Regions from separate parts of the Homo sapiens genome. Here region 1 is linked to region 2. The links are contacts of gene promoters, found by promoter capture Hi-C in blood cells and fetal thymus (Javierre and others, 2016). All regions are on one chromosome and are shown on one strand. Each heading gives the region's core, a stretch centred on a gene start or on the middle of the fragment in contact. The rest is flanking DNA. Distances are from core to core; before and after follow the strand shown.

Region 1 (4,826 bases), core at 1,564-4,063, 620 kb after region 2:
GATTAACAATGGAATAGTATTCCAGGATGAAGACAGAATTATTGATACGTACGACACAGATGAATCTCAGAAGTCCAGACCTGGCCGGCGTGGTGGCTCATGCCTGTAATCCCGACACTTTGGGAGGCCAAGGCAGGCGGATCACGAGGTCAGGAGTTCAAGACCAGTTTGGCCAACATGGTGAAACCCCATCTCTACTAAAAATTCAAAAATTAGCTGGGCATCGCAGCGCACGCCTGTAATCCCAGCTACTTGGGAGGCTGAGGCAGAATTGTTTGAACCGAGACCTGGGAGGCGGAGGTTGCAGTGAGCTGAGATTGTGTCCAGCCTGGGCTAGAGCGAGACTCCTCTCAAAAAAACAAAAGGCCAGACCCCACCTCAATGTCCACACACAGAAAATCCTAAAAAATACAAACCAATAAAGCAACTGAAAGATCACCGATTGCCTGGACATGAAAATATTTTAATGGGGGCAGTGATACTTACAGGGGGATGTTTGGGGTCTAGATTGTAATGGCTTCGCTCAAAAGTCACCAAATTTAAGTGTGTATCGTTTATGTCAGTTGTGCCTCAAAGCCATTTTAAAATGACTGTCACATATGGGGTATGTCGCTTTAAATTAGCCTAGGGCCTTCTAAAGCTCCAGAATTCCTGGGCTTTGCTTTTAGACATTTCTAGCTCTTAATGAGGAGAGGTAAGCTAACAGCTAGGACATGTTTCACAATAGCCTGAAGACTTAAAAAAAAAAAAAAAAGCCTTAATTTTTTTTTCAGGTGCCACACCTCCCTGGATGATCCAAGATGAAGAATACATTGCTGGGAACCAAGAAATAGGACCATCCTATGAAGAATTTCTTAAAGAAAGTAAGTAAACTAATTCAAGAGAGGATCGTCTAAATCTTCACACTCAAAAATGGTTTCCTTGCCTGTGTGTGGTGGCTCATGGCTATAATCCTAGCATTTTGGGAGGCTGAGGTGGGAGGGTCACTTGAGCCCAGAAGTTTGAAAACAGCCTGGACAACATAGTGAGACCCCATCTCTATATTCTTCAATAAAGAAAAATAAAAGTTTCCCTATCATTGTACAGAGGAAAAACAGAAGTTGAAAAAACTCCCCCCAGACCGAGTTGGGGCCAACTTTGATCACAGCTCCAGGACCAGTGCAGGCTGGCTGCCCTCTTTTGGCCGCGTCTGGAATAATGGACGCCGCTGGCAGTCCAGGTATGTGTGTTCAGTGCCGGGTCTCCAACCTACCCATCCAACCTCCTTTTTGGAGATGTCACCCTTCATCATCGTGTTAACCCTTTATTTCCTTTCAGACATCAATTCAAAACTGAAGCTGCAGCAATGAAGAAGCAGTCACATACAGAAAAAAGCTAATCATGCTCTCTACCAACTACCATGAGGCTAAAAGCAAAGTCAACAAACCCCTATTATACCTTCCACCAAATTCTTTATCATTGTCTTTCTTAGGAAACAGACATACTCATTCATTTGATTTAATAAAGTTTTATTTTTCCAAATGTACAGCTGGTTGGACCTGTAAAAAAAAATTAAAAGAATCAGAACCATAAAGCTTTGTATCTACCTCCTACACCATGAGCCCACACATTCCTACTCACCTATTCATGCATCTTCACCAGCAGCTGGAGCATCTCCACCCTTGGTATTTCTGGTGTAAATTACTTGAGCTCTGTGCTTTGAAACCAGTTTGATAAGTCCTAGGGGGAGAGAATAGCACGATGAGATGCTTAACAGATGCTACAATAGAAACTAGTAAGGTTTTTGGCTGGGCGCGGTGGCTCATGCTTATAATCCCACTGCTTTGGGAGGTGGAGACGGGCAGATAGCTTGAGGTAAGGAGTTGCACACCAGCCTGGCCAACAAGGTGAAACCCCATCTCTACCAAAAATACAAAAATTAGCTGGGCATGGTGGCACATGCTTGTAATTCCAGCTACTTGGGAAGCTGAGGTGAGGACCACCTGAACCCAGGAATTGGTGGTTGCATTGAGCCAAGACTGCCCCTCCGCACTCCAACCTGGGCAACAGAATGAGACTCTAGTAAGGTTTGTTTTGGCCGGGTGCAGAGGCTCATGCCTGTAATCCCAGCACTTTGGACAGGTGGATCTCTTGAGCCCAGGAGACCAGCCTGGGCAACATGGCAAAACCGCATCTCTATTTAAAGAAAAGGAAAACAAAAAGACAGAGTTCTCTCAGAGGTGCCCAGAATGGTCTTAAAACTCCTTGGCTCAAATGATCCTCCTGCTTTGGCCTCCCAAGTAGCTAGAAATACAAGGGTACCACTGCACCTGGCTCCAGAATTGCTTAATCTGACGTTCGGTAACCGAGAATCCTAGTTTTTAACGATCATCTATCCTTACTTTTCCTTTAAATTAGGGCTCCATTATCTTCCACCCCCCCCCCCTTTCTGAGACAGTCTTTTGCTGTCACTAAGGCTGGAGTGCAGTGGTGTCATCTCGGCTCACTGCCACCTCCATCTCCTGGGTTCAAGGGATCCTCATGCCTCAGCATCCTGAGTAGCTGGGATTACAGACGTGTGCCCCCACGTCCAGCTAACTTTCAGTAGAGCAGGTTTTCACCATATTGGCCAGGCTGGTCTTTAACTCCTGACCTCCGTTGATTCACCCGCCTTGGCCTCCCAAAGTGCTAGAATTATAGACGTTCAGTCACTATAGTTAGCTGAGCCTTATTATTGTGGAATTATGGTAATCAGACCATACTACTGAGTAGACCGTACTAAATTTCTGGTTTTAAAATTTAATACATCAACAAAATATTTACCATAAAGGTTTTAAACATTTTCAAAGTTGTTTCAAAATAGTAATCTAATTATTTCAAAAACGGTTGTCCCTGTAATTCTATGCATCCATTTACTCGAAACATAAAAGATCCTTGGGCTTCACTAAACTGCCACAGGGTCCACGGCACAAAAGTGGCTAAGAACCCTGAGAATTCATCTCAGGATCAGGAGTAAGACGTCAGAATTACATTACTAACAGCCAATGGTCAAGCCACGCTTTTTTTTTTTAATTCTGCTTTTCCAGCAAAACCACTGAAGATGCTTAACATGGTCAAGACAATTTAACCTACAAAAACACACATGTAGGATACACCCCTCACCTTTACTAAGGAGCTCCTGAAGGGCTGCCCTGGCCAGGGAGCCTCGAATCTTCAGTCTCTCAGAGACCACAGCTGGGGTTATAAGTTTATAGTTGGGAACTTCCTTACAGAGTTTATCATAGGTAGCTTTGTCAAACAAGACTAAGTTATTGAGCTTGTCCCGAACTTTGCCTTTGGACCACTTCTGCTCACCAAAACAAAACAGAAACAAGTTAGTATTTCTGGCAGAAGCACCCTTTCCCTCTCGAGTAATCTGCGTCAGAGAAATCTGTTCCACCGTTATCAAGGATAAATTACACATTACTAAAACAAAAACAAAAAAAAAACACCGACACGTTTTTGGCCTTCAAACAGGGGCCGAGCCCCACTAGATCAGTTAAAAATAACACAGCAGGCACAGCGGCAGACACTTCGCACAACAGACCCATTTTCATGATCCTAATGGGAAAAAGAACGAGTGGTGACGGGAAGATAAACTCTCACATTTTGACTCTAGAAATCTACACCTGAAAAACCACTTACTATACAAGTTACCTATTACTAGAGGATTACGAGAGAGTTACCCCTAGTCTCTTTCAGAGAGGTCTTATTTCTACCTTCTTTTTGGCCTTGCCCCCGGATTTGTTCACTGGGTCTTTGTCTTTCTTGGCCGACTTTCCAGCGTCCTTCTTCTTCTTGTCGTCCTTAGGCGGCTGTAGGAGGGCAGCGGGAATGCAACCAGGTCCTCAAATAGCGCCAAAGTCCCCTAATACTGCGCCCTCAGCCCCCGCAAACTCCACCACCAGAGCACATGGGCCAAGCAATAACCGCGCCCGCCCTGCAACCGAGGCCGGCAGGCCAAGGAGCGCTCCCGCCGAAGGCTCTCCCCACTGAGTCCTCAAACCCAAGAACGCCGGCGACTTCACACCCCTGAAGCTTACCATTGCGAAGCTCGGAGAATAGCAGCAGACACCGCAGCCTCGTCAAGATGTCGGACAAAAAGGAAGCGCTGCTCAGAAACGGGCCCAAAAACCACCGTCCGCTGTGAGTACTTCCGGGGCAAAAGGCGGAGCCAGGCAGAAGAAGTCCCACGGCGAAGCGCTCGCCCTCTAGCCTGAGGCGGAAGACAGGAAGTGGATTCTAGTTCCCAAGCCGCACCGCCTAAATACTGCCGGAGTCTGCGCTAGTTGTGACGCATACTATAGCGCTGTTTTCCTGCACTGATAAACGAAAAGCAATCCACCAGGTCTCGGCAGCTAACTTTCCGGCACTACTTATGCCCGAGCGTGTCGCTCCCAGTGCGCAAGTGCAGCAGGTGGCTGCACGGGGGGCGCGGGAGGAGGAGGAGGAGGAGGAGGAGGCTGGGGTGGGGCCGGCGGCAAGTGCTGTGATGCGGTTCCGGGGAGGGGCCGTCGGGTAGAGGCTGAATACCAGTTTCCGAGCGGCAAGGCAGCGATGGCGATTTTTAGTGTGTATGTGGTGAACAAAGCTGGCGGCTTGATTTACCAGTTGGACAGCTACGCGCCACGGGCTGAGGCTGAGAAAACTTTCAGTTATCCGCTGGATCTGCTGCTCAAGCTACACGATGAGCGTGTGTTGGTTGCTTTCGGCCAGCGGGACGGCATCCGAGGTGGGCTAGGCTCGGGCCCGTGGCGGGTGCGGGGGTGGGAGGGCCCCAGTGCTGTAGAAGTGGGCTGGTTGTAGGT
Region 2 (4,897 bases), core at 356-2,855:
CCAGCCTGGGCAATGTGGCAAGACCCCATCTCTAAATAAATAAATGACTGCCTCTTCTCTGTCTTCAATTTCTCCCCTGAGTTCCACATCCCCCTTTGGTTTTCTGACTTGTAATCCTTTACAGCCATATTTCTTCACCATTCACCCTGGATTCTATCCTAATTTTTTGAAAAGGCGCTAGTTAGTTAAAGATTGCCATATTGCTAAATTAACTTTCCCATCCTTAATTTGACTTTTCTGCAGTATCTAGGGCAGCAGAATCACTCCTTCATTGAAAAGTTCTTAGTTCCTTGATTACACTTCTAATTTTTCTTTCCATCTCTCTAACCATTCCAAAAATCGGAGATTTACTTCTGCTCAGACTTCCCCAGGTTACATTACTTATAGTTCTGTTCCTCTCATCAAATGCCACTTCCCTACATACATCTTTTCCTCCTCATATTAAACTATGAAGTTTCAGCCCTCTGTAGTATACAGCTGTTCTCTTACACATCGGCTCAAGGATCTTTTCTAGGAAGTATGCTGAAATCAGCACCATGCCTAATCTGATGGAATGCCCCCTCTCTGAGTATACATTGCAACTTCAGATCTCAACTCTGCCACTTCCAAACTGTGTGGCCATTTTTCAAGCCCAGTCTCAATGGGGACAATGCCTTACAGGCTTTCTTTAAATTCCAAAATGCCTGGCATAGTGTGGGCGTTCAATACAGGTGATTTTTTCCTCACATCTGCACAGCTCCTTGTGGTTAACTAGGGAATTAGGGGAAATGGATTCCAATCGTGATACAGCACTTTGGGGAGATTGGGATTACAAAAAATCAACTTTAAAAGGGCTATGGGGCCAGGCGCGGTGATTCACGCCTGTAATCCCAGCACCAAGGCGGGTGGATCACTTGAAGCTAGGAGTTCGAGACCAGCCTGGCCAACATGGTGAAACACCGTCTCTACTAAAAGTACAAAAATTAGCCAGGCGTGGTGGCGGGCGCCTGTAGTCCCATCTACTAGGGAGACTGAGGCACAACAATCGCTGGAACCCGGGGGACAGAGGTTGCAGTGAGCCGAAGTCGTGCCACTGCACTTCAGCCTGGGCGACAGAGCGAGACTGTCTCAAATAAAAAGGGCTATGGGTTGAGCCTGGTGACAGCCTGTGTGGTGATTGCTCGGCCCCTAACTTTATATGTTTGGCCTTGGACCCTCTCTACCTCTGTACAACGATCGTGTTGGACTAGAAGAATCTCAGCGAATCCTTCTCCAGTACTGACTTCAAAGGTTCTCAGAATCGCGGCGAAAGCACCCTACGCAAAATAGCGGAGGTCGGCGCCAAGAAAAGCACTGCAGGTTCAGGGCGCATGCGCATTTCCGCTCCTTGCCGGTTTTCCGGACCTCTACGAGTGGCTGCCCCACAAAATGCCTGCTTCTCTGCGGAATCCTACTGTTCTTCACATGCTCTCTAATACCATCTTTTCATATCCACTTTCTCTTCCATGTTGAAAAATTAAATTGACAGGCTGGATTCTGCAAAGATCTTTGGACATTTAAGTATCTTCGACCGGCGCGAAAAGAGGCGGCCTGACCTTGGAAGTGGGACGGGGTCCTGCAGCGGGTCCTTCCGGCGGGTGACATTCAGCCGGCGGTTCGGGGCGACGGACTCTCCATTCCAGAACCATGGCCCAATTTGTCCGTAACCTTGTGGAGAAGACCCCGGCGCTGGTGAACGGTGAGCGCGATGTGAGACCGCCGAGGCGGGCACACGGGCGGCAGGGAGGCCTGCGATGGCCTGAGAGGAAGAAGCGGGCTGCGAAGACCCGAGGGGCCTGCGGGTGCCGGGGCGGGATGGCCTGCAGGTGGAGGGAGCAGGAAGCAGGTTGGCGACTCTTTTCTAGCCTTCCACTCGTCTGACCTGCAGATTGGGTTCTCTACACAACCTAGAAGTTCCTGAATTCTAACCACGACTGGGAAGAGAGGTAGTGTGAAGGAAGCCCGGCGTTGCCCGGCAGCTGCAACCATTACGCCCCCTGAGATCGCTAAGAGCAGGGATCTAGAGGGGATGGTTCTGTTAGGAGAGCTAAGAAAAGGAAGGGCAGAAACGTGAAAGTAAATCAATTCGGCCTCATTACATGTGGTGTTGTTCTCAGTGGAGTATTTGGAAGTCAACAGAAATGTTTAAGGATGGGTGAGCTTTTTTGAACGTTGACTTTGCTTTCTGTCCTAGACGGATTCTAAGATACTTCCGCTTTAATCCGAGGGAAATTTTAGGTGGAAATGGACTTCATGGATGAGTATCCATGCCCCGAGAAGCATAGGACGGGATCCGTATAAACAATAATCTTTGTTACGAAGCTTAGCATTCGTGGAATTTTTTCAGCTTGAAGAGCCTCACTGGTAGACCGCTGTATTTCACAACAACCCTGAATAATCACAGCCTCTGAGTACTAGTTTATTTGGCCAGTAAATATTTCAGTTGTCTTCTCAGTGGCAAGCTATTCATTTTATTCCTGAAGTGAGATAAGCTAAATTGACGTAAGTTTTTCCTAGATGTGCTGTATTCCAGTAAGTGACTGAAGGTCGGATCTCTTAACTTTTGCCTACGTTTATGAAATGTGAATAGAAAGCAGAACTTCAAAAAAAATGTAATACTTTCTAGCCTATTTTGCTGTGTTTGAGTTTGGTTTGGGTATTTTCTTTTTCTTTCTTTCTTTTTTTTTTTTTTTTTTCCTAGAAGACAGGGACTCACTCTGTCGCCCAGGCTGGAGTGCAGTGCAGATCACAGCTCACTGCAGCCTCCACCTCCTAGGCTCAAGCGATCCTCCCACCTCAGCCTCCTGAGTAGCTGGGATCACAGGCACGCACCACCACACCCAGCTAATTTTTGTATGTTTTAAGAGACGGGATTTCACCATGTTGCCCAGGCTAGTCTCTTAACTCCTGGGCTCAAGGGATCCTCCCGCCTCGGTCTCCTAAAGTGCCAGAGTTACAGGTGTGAGCCACAGCGCCAGCCGGGTAATTTATCCATTCTCTCCTCCCTTCCCTCCATCACCAGCCAAACTATGAGTTATTGAAGGCTGTCCTGCAGAACCTCACAGCCTACTAGTGAAACATTTTACACATTTTCCCAAATAATTTCATAAGCTTGCAAGAAAATCTTTTACTTTACTAAGATTGTTAAGATACCTGTCATAGAGCTCTACAATTTTATATAAATCAAAAGAGATGGCCCTGCGGCGGTAGCTTACGCCTGTAATCTCAGCACTTTGGGAGGCCAAGGCGGGCAGATCACTTGAGGGCAGGAGTTCGAGACCAGCCTGGCCAACATAGTGAAACCCCATCTCTACAAAAAATACAAAAATTAGGCAGGCTTGGTGGTGCATGTCTGTAATCGCAGCTACTTGGGAGGCTGAGGCAGGAGAATCGCTTGAACCCCGGAGGCGGAGGTTGCAGTGAGTCAGGATTGCACCACTGCATTCCAGCCTGGGCGACGAAGCGAGGCTAGGTCTCAAAAAAAAAAAATAATAATGCTGGACACTGTGGCTCACGCCTGTAATCCCAGCACTTTGGGAGGCCAAGGCAGGTGGATTACCTGAGGTCAGGAGTTAGACACCAGCCTCACTAATATGGTGAAACCTCGTCTCTACTAAAACAGAAATTAGCCGGGCATGGTGGCAGGCGCCTATAATCCCAGCTACTCGGGAAGCTGAGGCAGGAAAATCTCTTTAACCCAGGAGGCGGAGGTTGCAGTGAGCCAAGATTGCGCCACTGCACTCCAGCCTGGCGACAGAGCGAGACTCCGTCTAAAAAAAAAAAAAAAAAAAACTAAAGAGAAAAAAGGATTAGAGGCTTCACTCTGGACTTTGTGGGTGATTTAAGGCACAATTCTTAATATTTCAAGTGGATTTTTTTTCTGGTGTGGCTTTCACATTTTTTAGGTGGCGCATATTAAGGAATTGCAAACTAATTTTTGTGATCTAAAAAGAAAAGTAACACCAAGGTAATTTTTTTGTTATGAAATATATAATATGAACCCTTCCCTCCGTTGTAAATAATTGAAAGATAACTTGTTATTCTTCCAAAAGTACTTAGAAAGGAGGACTCAACTGGGCTGGAATGTTAACGTGGAAATACATTTTGCTTTATAACATACATAGGCTAGTGTATTAAATGTGAATGTTAAATATTTAATAAAAATTACTGACTATATCTGTTAATTCCCCTGGGGGTCAAAAAAGCTTATGGAAATAAGTAAATTTATCATCAGGTTTGCCTAGGAAGATCATAGAATCTGATTTTTTTTTCCCTTAACTGTAGACTTTATTTGTATTTCAATAGTTTTTCCAATAATCTTTCAGTTCCGGGATCCAATCCAGTGTACCACATTGCATTTAGTTTCTATGTCTTCCCAATCTCCTCTGGTCTGGGACAGTTTCCCAGTCTTCCCTCATCTTTCCTGACCTTGACAGTTTTAAGGTATCTAGGTATCTTGTCTGTCTAGGTATCTGTCTTGTCAAAGTATCTGTCTAGGTATCCTGAAGAATTTCCTCAATCTGGATTTGTCTGGTGTTTTTCTCATGCTTAGTTTGGCACTATGGATTTTGAGGAAATACCACAGTGAAGAGATGCCCTAATCACATGTCAGGAGGTATATGATATTCCTGTGACATCTCTGGTGATACAAGCTTTCATCACTTGGTTATAGGTTCCTCTACTGTAAAGTTACTGTTTTTCTCTCCGTGTTCTATTCTATAGAAGCAAATAACTAAGCCTATCCCATAAAGGCAAGGTGTGATTACAGTGGGGGGATTCCATCCCCTGTAGGAGGGAATATCTACATAAATAGAATTTTTCTGTGAGAAAGATTTGTCTCTTCTCCATTTATTTATCCAGTCACTTATTGTATGGACTT

What was found. The method cuts DNA at HindIII sites, captures the fragments that hold promoters and counts their contacts. A CHiCAGO score of 5 or more calls a contact.
Region 1: a fragment that was not itself captured here is called in contact with the fragment with the promoter of ATP5MG in region 2 in 1 of 17 cell types (total CD8 T cells); the score reaches 6.5 in total CD8 T cells.

What each region holds. Positions count from the first base shown.
Region 1 is chr11:119,014,221-119,019,046 of GRCh38, forward strand. CENATAC (centrosomal AT-AC splicing factor) reads left to right here. Exons shown (of 11, transcript NM_198489.3): 9 at 774-863; 10 at 1,087-1,219; 11 at 1,318-1,573. The coding sequence ends at 1,378. RPS25 (ribosomal protein S25) reads right to left here and starts at 4,123. Exons shown (of 5, transcript NM_001028.3): 1 at 4,062-4,123; 2 at 3,738-3,833; 3 at 3,142-3,325; 4 at 1,621-1,719; 5 at 1,497-1,538. The coding sequence starts at 4,064. The coding sequence ends at 1,625. TRAPPC4 (trafficking protein particle complex subunit 4) reads left to right here and starts at 4,546. Exons shown (of 5, transcript NM_016146.6): 1 at 4,546-4,750. The coding sequence starts at 4,576. RefSeq lists enhancers at 3,845-3,914, 3,935-4,164, 4,419-4,826 and a silencer at 4,405-4,524. The HindIII fragment of the contact is 2,482 bases long and covers 1,573-4,054 here.
Region 2 is chr11:118,400,001-118,404,897 of GRCh38, forward strand. ATP5MG (ATP synthase membrane subunit g) reads left to right here and starts at 1,606. Exons shown (of 3, transcript NM_006476.5): 1 at 1,606-1,717. The coding sequence starts at 1,666. All of the region lies in intron 3 of LOC100131626 (a long non-coding RNA gene), which reads right to left. RefSeq lists enhancers at 1,267-1,346, 1,467-2,330, 2,789-3,379. The HindIII fragment of the contact is 3,431 bases long and covers 1-2,338 here.